2 separate regions of the Homo sapiens genome follow, and region 2 is linked to region 1. Evidence: promoter capture Hi-C in 16 types of primary human blood cells and fetal thymus (Javierre and others, 2016). All regions are on one chromosome and are shown on one strand. The core of a region is centred on a gene start or on the middle of the fragment in contact, and the rest is flanking DNA. Distances in the headings are between cores, read along the strand shown. Region 1 holds the start of MBD4 (methyl-CpG binding domain 4, DNA glycosylase). Region 2 overlaps RAB7A (RAB7A, member RAS oncogene family).

Region 1 (4,561 bases), core at 2,040-4,539:
TGACCCAGCCCCACTTACTCATTTTGTAATCTTAGGTAACTTATGTCACCTCATTAAATCTCAATTTCTTCATCTTTAAATGAGATGAAAATTCCAACCTCACATGTTGTAGAGATTAAACATGATAACACCTATAAAGACATGTGGACATGTGGCCTATAGCAAGTACTCAGTAAATACTAGCTGGCATGAATGGAGAGTTACAGCAGATGCTAGCCTGATTGGAATACAGTGGGCTAGCCTAATAAGACATCCTGGTTGAGATGAACCTGGAGCTGTGCATTTAAAGGAGAAAACTAGGGAGTTCATAGAATAAGGGAGCATTTGGGAAGGATCTTCGGGTAGAAAAATAGAGTTTTCAGCTCAACCTAAAAGTATAAATTTAAATGTTGCAAGCCTGATGGGGAGGAGGGTCAGGAGGACCCTCTAGCAAAATGCACGACTTGACATGGAAAGTAATTGGGAATCACTCTAGGTTTATGAGAAGTAGAGTAACAGGATCACAGCAGCAGGTCTTAAAAAAACAGAGTTCCTGCTGCTATGTGAAGGTTAAAATAGAAGCAAAGGAGCAGACCGGGAGACAATGGCTGATTTGGATGTGGAGGACTAATCTTTGACATCTAGGATTTTTTTAGTTCTACTGTCTTTTTTTTTTTTGTTTAGTTTTTTGTTTTGTTTTCATTCTGGGCTATCAGCTGGTATATCTAGCAGCCATCAGGATTGATGGTCTATAGAACCCCTACATCCCTTATCCTAATAGGTTGTCTCAAATCTGTAATGGGCCAAAAACCAGAAAACCAATCTTTATTCATCATTCATTCACGTATGAATACATCTACCCACAGTATTTCGTTTTATATATATCTAGTATTTTATTACTATCCATAGTAACAACAACCACTGACCTGTCTCTAGAATAATTTGGAAACGAGTAAGACATAGCCATTGCCTTTAACGGGTTTATTAGACTTCTGAATTAAACAGATTTAAAAAATTAACTCTTATGCTCAACAGACTCTGGAAGTACCACAAGAGAGAAATGAACAAAATTCTGTGCCAGGGGTTGAAAACAGAGCAAATCAGGCTGCATTCGGCCAGCAAATGTTTTATTTGGCCCACACGGTGTTTTGTTTTTTTTTCAGAGTGGATGCTAACATTTAAAAATTAGGCCATTTCACATAAAAACCCAGATTCCTAGCTTCTGGTAAAAACAGGAAGAGCTGAGCACACTAGGCCAAATTCCTGCATGGTGGTAATTGGCAGGAGCTGAGCAGCAGCTGCCCCTTTTAGGCCGAGCATGAGCTCTGCAGTTTGCCACACTCTATTACTCTGACATTGAAGCCAAATGTTCAGTTGCCAGCTATCATCAGCTTGTGCTATAGGTACGTTTATAATAAAGTTAAAAGTAAAATGATTTTTTAAAACTCAAATCTCTATTAAAAGTACAAATGAAAGATTCACTGATACGGCTGTGTTTCAAGAAAAATGGGGTACAGAATACAAGACTATTCCTAGGGAAAACATACAATTCCTAGTGTTGAAGATGCAAATAAACATCTCCCATTTATGTTACCTGCCTGTCTCCTGCAGACATTTGAGTTTGCCACGTCTGTAACATAAGGAAAAATTAATGTAGTGGCTGAGAGCGTTGACGTTGGAGTGAGGAAGACCTGAGCTTGAAAGCTGGTTCCACCCCTCACTGTGTGACGCTGGCAAATTATCCACCCTCTCTGGGCTTCAGTTTCCTCATACATAAAATAGAGGAAATTATAGTACCTACCTTAGAGAGTGGTGAAGACACAACGAGATAAAGGATATGAAGTGCTTAGCCAGCACCTGGCACATAGTGTCAGCTACCACTAGTGCCGAACACAAAAGAGAGGACCCGTCTCCAACGTGAGCCTTGAAGGATGTTCAGGATTTCCGTGTGAGATGAGGAGAGACGGCATGCTTTACACAGAGAAAGATCTCAGAAGGGACAGAACCAAAGACAAGTAACCTGCTCCAGTGGCCAGAACAGAGGCTTCACAACAATGCTGAATGATTTTCAAAGTCAGGCCAAGACCTATCCCATAAGTAAGAATATGACAAAACAGACTGCTATGTTATAGATTTAGGCGATAACAATGGAATAGGACATTAAATAACTGAATCAAAAGGTGACAAAGTCATTCCCCTTCAGTTCTTTTTCAGACTTCCCAATTAGGAGAGCTTGTGTTTGGTGCTCATTTTGAGCACCTTTCTGATCATACCTGCCCATCTCCAGTTTTAGAGAAACGAGATCTCAGGTTTAAAGGCTCCCTAGCAACAATAGCTAGCTACAGCTTGTTCAGTTTTGTTTCTCCCTACTTTAAGTTTTACTTTTACACTTAGAGCAAGCGACGCTGATTTTATCTTAACATTTAGAGCAAGTGACACTGGTTTTCATAAATGGAGTAATAAAGTTTCCTTGTAAAATGTGAAATCATAATTAAAATAAATGAGACAATTTAGAGAAAAACGTCAAGAAAACAAGAGTATGGGTACTATGTGGATGTGGCAAGAACTGTGAAGCTTGAGCAGCTTCGTGCTGTCTCGTGGGTGTGAGATGAATCCAAGGCAGCGACAGGGCCAGACCGTGAGGGAAGAGCCGCCTCCACCCGCCACCACCTCAGGCGCGGCACCTCCCTTTGCCGCTCTCCAACCCTCGGGAGTTTCTCCAACCGCCAAGGGGCGGGAGGGCGACCCTGCAGTCTCCCAGGCCGGGGTTCAGTGCCCTCGGCCCAGGCAGCAAGCCCGCTGCCCCCCTCAAACACGCTGCAGCGGCTCGCGCACTCCCCGCGAGGACTCGACCTCCTGCTCTTCGCGAACCGCCCCGCTCCTCACCAGTGCTCGGCTTTATCTCTCCACGTCAACACGGCCCTCATCACGGCTTCCCTTACGGCTCGGGCTCCTCCTACCCGCCTCAGCGTCTGTCTCAGCAACCGCCTCACTAACGGTCGCCACTCCACAAGCCACTTTGGCTACCTGCGTTACCCCTGGCAACGTACATGCGCGGTAAGCTGAGTGCGAGGGCGCCTTGCTCCGAGCGCGCATGTCCGAAAGGGAAAGCCAGAAAAGCAGCAAAAGCAATGGTGGCACTGGAGCCCCTAAGGCGCCAGCGCAACCAGAGCGCGAGCGATTGGTCGGGGCGTGTGGGGGCGGTGCGTCTTCCTCGAGAATGGATTTGATTGGTGGAGCGTGGAAATGGCGGCTGTAGCCGAGGGGGCGGCCGGAAAGCAGCGGCGGCGTCTGGGGCGCTTTCGCAACATTCAGACCTCGGTTGCAGCCCGGTGCCGTGAGCTGAAGAGGTTTCACATCTTACTCCGCCCCACACCCTGGGCGTTGCGGCGCTGGGCTCGTTGCTGCAGCCGGACCCTGCTCGATGGGCACGACTGGGCTGGAGAGTCTGAGTCTGGGGGACCGCGGAGCTGCCCCCACCGTCACCTCTAGTGAGCGCCTAGTCCCAGACCCGCCGAATGACCTCCGGTAAGTTACTGTCCCCTTTTGGGCCTCAGTTTCACCACCTGTAAAATGGTATCGGGAGAGTGGACAGTGTGTGGGCCTTTCTAACCTTTGACAGAGGGTCGGCAGAAACCTCGAAGCCCACGGGTTTAGTTACTAGGGTCTGGAGCCCAGGTGCTCTTCCTGTGCGATCAGCCCTGGGGTGCGCTCGACTTCCTCATCTAAGATGACTAGGGAGACTGGGGGGGAGCCGGGAGGTTTTGTGAAAGAGGTCCCCTTGGGGTTGGAGGATCCTAGGAAGTCATTAGACTACGTGTGTGATAGGAGGTTAAGATTTACCTACTTTTTTCAAAATTTAATACTAAGAACTACTTTGAAAGAGGCATCACCTTCTTTTTACAGAGTCTTTTACCGAGACTTTGAGATGTTAAGTAACTTGCTGCTAAACTTACAGCTGGTAGAGCTGGAATTTGAGCCCCAGTCTCTTAAGAGTTTGTGCTGATTCCACCAGGCTTCAGTATTTTTATCTCTAAAATTGTAAACAATATCATTTCATAAGATCCATCCAGCTCCTCAAAATTATTTTACCCCAAATTACATCAGAAAACCTTGATTCTAATTCTAGTTCTTGCAGTTTCCCTATTTGTAGAAAAGAACTTGGGTTAAATGATCTCTCTAGACCCATCCACCTTTTACAATCTGTGGTTTAGTGATTAGGATACACTTTACTGAAATTTTTTTTTTAATTTTAAAAGTATGTTTTCATCATAGAAGACACATTGGAACTTTAATGAAGTTTTAGTTTAGTGGGTTTTTTTTTGAGATGAGGTCTCGCTCTGTCACCCAGGCTGGAGTGCAGTGGCACAATCATAGCTCCCTGAAGCCTTGACCTGCCGGACTTAAGCAGTCCTCCTACCCCGGCCTCCTTAGTAGCTGGGACCACAGGTATGCTCCACCACGCCCGGTTGCTTGTTTTTTTTTGTTTTTTTGGGTTTTTTTTTTCATTTTTTGCAAAGACGAGGATCTCACTGTGCTCTCCAGGCTGGTCTCAAACTCTTGGGATCAGGTGATCTTCCCA
Region 2 (4,533 bases), core at 58-2,557, 640 kb after region 1:
TTTTAGAACATCTCTAGTCATTGTGAACATCTCTTGTGGTACATTATTTCCTCATGTGGTTATGAACTCATCTTCTCTCCTGCGGTACTAAATGTCCCTACAGAGTGGTCTTACCCTTGTTTTTGCCAGGAATGACAGGGATTTATGTTAAATCCTTTGAGACAAAGATTTCTGTACATGTGGAGAGTGGGACTGAGAATCTCCAACAACTGCAGACACAAGCTTTGCCAATTTCTTGGGCCAAGGTTTTCCAGTTCTACTCTCAAGCTTGACTTGCTTAAACTGTAGTTACATTTTGAAGATCTCTAGGTGTATGTGTGTAGGTGAGGTGAGGATGAGAGATTCATACCAGCTCTGTCCTAGAAGTGTGAGTCAATTAAGAGTCCTGATCCTCTAGGAGCATGCCATGGCTCGAGGTCAACACGTGCACAAATTTCTACCTTTAACCTACATCATTCACACATTTCAGCAAGCCCCCACTATTTGCCAGGTACTTTCTAGGACTATAATGGGATTAGAATTGTATTTGCCTCTAGAAGCACATAGGAAAGAACAACTGCCATGGAGATAGAAGTTTCCAAAGATCTGAGCTAAAAGTTGGAGACTTCAGGTGGGTATACAGGCCCTGCTGGAAGCAGAGACATATCCACCAACACAAGTCTGTAAGAGCAGCACATGATTCGGAATGACTGGAACGAGACAAAAAAAAAAAAAGTGAGTAACAGCTATTTCCACCATCTTTTCTTGCCTCCGTAATGCATGAACGTCTTGGCTGATGCTCTCAAGGGCAAACACCAGGTTCTTATTAGGCTGTGCTCCCAAGTCATGGTCTGGTTCTAAGTGTGAAGATGAAACATGATCACATTGAAAATTTGAAATCACTGGTCATCACAGAGCTGGGAAAATTACTGTAAACCTCACAGGCAGGTTAAAACTGCCCCTGGAATGATTGGCCCCAGATGTGATGTGCAACTCAAAGATCTAGAAAAATGACAGGATAATCTACTCCTATCCCAATAGTTTGGTTTCAAAGTGAGGTTGTACTGACAACCTCAGCTGGCATCATGGACCATGAAGAAAGAGATGAAAATACAGGAGGGAAAATCCTGGGATTCTTTTTTTTTTTTTTTTTTTTTTTTAAATTTAGAGACAGGGTCTCACTCCATCACCCAGGCTGGAGTATAATGGAGCAGTCACAGCTCACTGCAGGCTCAAACTCCTGGGCTCAAGGTATCCATCCTTCAGGGGTTTCTTTTCTAGGGATGTTAATACATGTATACAAACAAAATGACTCAATGGGGGAAAAAAAGGGAATAATAGTTTATAGCCAGAATGTGAAGGCTTTTCAACAAGTCATATGAAAGAATCTGTATCTTATCCTAACTGTTGAAAGGGAACCCTTGAAAGATTAATAAGCTGATACATAAAAAAAAGATTGGCTCAATAGACACACAACTCTTGAAGTTACGTATGAAATAGGAAGTCAGAAAAATAAAGTTTATGTCTCACTACTGAGGTGAGACAAAGATGTTTACCTAAAGCACTGGGCAAGGATGTCAAGAGAGGCACAAGACAGAGACCTGCAGGTTGCCAAATTTAGCAAACAACAAAACCAAAAACAACAAAAAACAAGAAAGGATAAATCTGAGTTTTTTTTTAAGAAGAATTTTTTAGTGTGTCTTAGCAAGTCGTATCTGAGATACACTAGAAGTATACTAAAAAAGTATTCACTATTGATCTGAAATTCAAATTTAACTGAGTATCAGCCAATTATCTACAAATAAGATAATAAGATTTGAAGAACAGGGAAGGAAAATGTCTATGCATGAGGAAAGATTAAGACTAAATGAACTATCAAGGCCTGGTCAGCACAGCCAAGACATGTGCTTACCTGCATTGTGACTAGCCTGTCATCCACCATCACCTCCTTGGTCAGAAAGTCAGCTCCTATTGTGGCTTTGTACTGATTGCTGAATTTCTTATTCACATACTGGTTCATGAGTGATGTCTTCCCGACTCTGAAATTGGAGAAAAACCATAAGTATAAGTCAAATAGGAGGGTCCTGAAACTGACACGAATTACTTGAAGCATTTAAAAGAATCTGCCTGACCTGAAGGACAAGAAACTGCCCTCACAGCAAAGGGCAATGCCAGTAGCCTTCCGAGCATTACACTTTTGAAGTTTTGTGTTTTCTCTCTGGGTAAAAATATAGGGTACAGATGTGGGGCAGATGTGGAAAAGCTGCTTACATGTTTTGGCACAGCCAGGTCAAATGGTAGAGCCTAGTATTATTTTTTCCATTCTAGAAGGATGCCAGCAAATATACTGCTTTCTAAAAGAAGCTTCACTATTAAGACTGTTCTGCTATTCCAACAGTATCCCTGCTATCTTAGATGTTTCTCCATTTAGTGGCTGCTATTTAGCTTGATGAAGTAACACCAGGAGGAAGACCTTGGCTTTCAGCAGACACACACCACTCAGACAATTTGCTGCTTTAAAGTTTAAAATCTGAAGCAGAAAAAGCACCAATATATCACCAAAACAAATCCACCTCAAAGAATGCTCCTCCAAATATGTTTTCTAGTAAGAAAACTCAGCAAGAGACAATGTGTGATTTTTGTGTGATAAGGTTAAGGTAACCTAAAGCTAATACAAAAACCTTCCCCCCCATAGCCAGTGATATCACCTTTCTTGGCCACAAAGGAACATGTTCATATTTGTGTTAAAGAACCTGGAGGTACCTAGACAGCCGAAGGCAGTGTTTTCCAACCCAGACCATCTAAGCCAGAATCTACAAGGTGAGAGGTGGCAAAACCTGGAATCGAACAAGGGCTTGGTGAGACTTTTTGCACAAGTTTGGGGAAGGCAGGCCTAAAAGCACTATCTTTCCATCCCGACGGGGATGGAGTTGCGGGGTAGGAGAGAGAGCACAAATCTAGGCCCTAGCCCACTGGTCTGGGGCTGGGCAAATGCTAGCGAACAAAAGGTTCTTCAAAGGCTGGGCATGGTGGCTCAAGCCTGTAATCTCAGCACTTTGGGAGGTCGAGACGAGTGGACTGCTTGAGCCCAGGAGTTTGAGACCAGCCTGGGCAACATGGTAGAACCCTGTCTCTATAAAAAATACAAAAATTTAACCAGGAGTGGTAGCACACACTGGTGGTCCCAGCTACTCTGGAGGCTGAGGTGGGAGGATGGCTTAAGACCAGGAGGTTGAGGCTGCAGTGAGCTGTGATTGCACCATTCACTTTAGTCTGGGCAACAGAGCGAGACCCTGTCTCTCACACACATACAAAAAAAGGTTCTGCAGGTGATTCAAATAAGCCAGTCAAGACAGAAAAACCTCTGGCTTTTCAAAGGAAGGGCAGGGGACTTTGGAATAAAGAAGCATACCTGCATTTGCTATTGTTGTTATTTTTAAAAATACATAAGCTTCCAATGAGTCAAAGCTTTCATGGGTCCCTTCAGATGCCAAGTCTGAAAAGCCTACCACAGAATCTTTTTATTTTAAGAGTTGGGGTCTTGCTCTGTCACTCGGGCTGCAGTGCAACGGCATGATCATAGCTTGCTACAGCCTCAAACTCCTGGGCTCAAGCCATCCTCTCGCCTCGGCCTCCCCAGCAGCTGGAACTACAGGTACGGCACCTGGCTAAATTTTTTTTGTAGAGACAGGTCTCCAACTCCTGGGCTCAAGCAATCCTCCCCTCAGCCTCCAAAGCACTGGGATTATGGGCATAAGCCACCTCACCCAACCTACCACAGAATCTTAAGAGCCATTAGAGTTAGCTACATGGTTAGTGGCACATCTAGAATCAGAACCCAGTTCTGCCGTCCCAGGCTCTTTTGCAGATAGATCTGAAGCAGGCACAGCAGCAGGAGGATACTGTATGGTGCACTAAGAACGCACATCTGGGTCGGGCGCGGTGGCTCACGCCTGTAATCCCAGCACTTTGGGAGGCCGAGGCAGGCGGATCACGAGGTCAGGAGATCAAGACCATCCTGGCTAACACGGTGAAACCCCATCTCTACCAAAAATACAAAAAACTAGCCGGGCGTGGTGGCGGGCGCCTGTAGTCCCAGCTCCTCGGGAGGCTGAGGCAGGAGAATGGCGTGAATCCGGGAGGCGGAGCTTGCAGTGAGCCGAGATCGCGCCACTGCACTCCAGCCTGGGCGACAGAGCGAGACTCTGTCTCCAAAAAAAAAAAAAAAAAGCACATCTGCTACGCCAGATGCCAATGGCAATACATCTACGTAAGGAAGACTCCCCAGCCTGGCCAGCTTGGAGAAAAGGGATTCCATGAAAATGCCTATCCTTAGTTGAGTTCAAATAGCCATCCGTTCCCCATAAAAAATCATGCTAAAAACTAGAGAACAAAAGGTTATATAACAAGGGATCATCTAAATTTCTGCCGTGGAGGGAAACATGTAAGGCCCTAAGCCTCACTATGAAAGCAAGAAGTGGCAGCACGGACAGTGTGGGCTCCACAGCAGAGAGGCTTAGCTCTAAGCCAATCTGTTAGCTCAAATTCATGAGT

The links. The method cuts DNA at HindIII sites, captures the fragments that hold promoters and counts their contacts. A CHiCAGO score of 5 or more calls a contact.
Region 2: a fragment that was not itself captured here is called in contact with the fragment with the promoter of MBD4 in region 1 in 1 of 17 cell types (total B cells); the score reaches 5.7 in total B cells.

What each region holds. Positions count from the first base shown.
Region 1 is chr3:129,438,676-129,443,236 of GRCh38, reverse strand. MBD4 (methyl-CpG binding domain 4, DNA glycosylase) reads left to right here and starts at 3,289. Exons shown (of 8, transcript NM_001276270.2): 1 at 3,289-3,507. The coding sequence starts at 3,404. IFT122 (intraflagellar transport 122) reads right to left here and starts at 3,013. Exons shown (of 30, transcript NM_052989.3): 1 at 2,866-3,013. The coding sequence starts at 2,906. RefSeq lists enhancers at 2,010-2,059, 2,460-2,509, 2,540-2,589, 2,740-2,949, 3,150-3,289 and 1 more. The HindIII fragment of the contact is 2,558 bases long and covers 2,556-4,561 here.
Region 2 is chr3:128,795,428-128,799,960 of GRCh38, reverse strand. It overlaps RAB7A (RAB7A, member RAS oncogene family), which reads right to left. Exons shown (of 6, transcript NM_004637.6): 3 at 1,892-2,018. It also overlaps the pseudogene RPS15AP16. Among named protein-coding and RNA genes, the nearest start is that of MIR12124, 49 kb to the left of the region's middle. The HindIII fragment of the contact is 2,076 bases long and covers 270-2,345 here.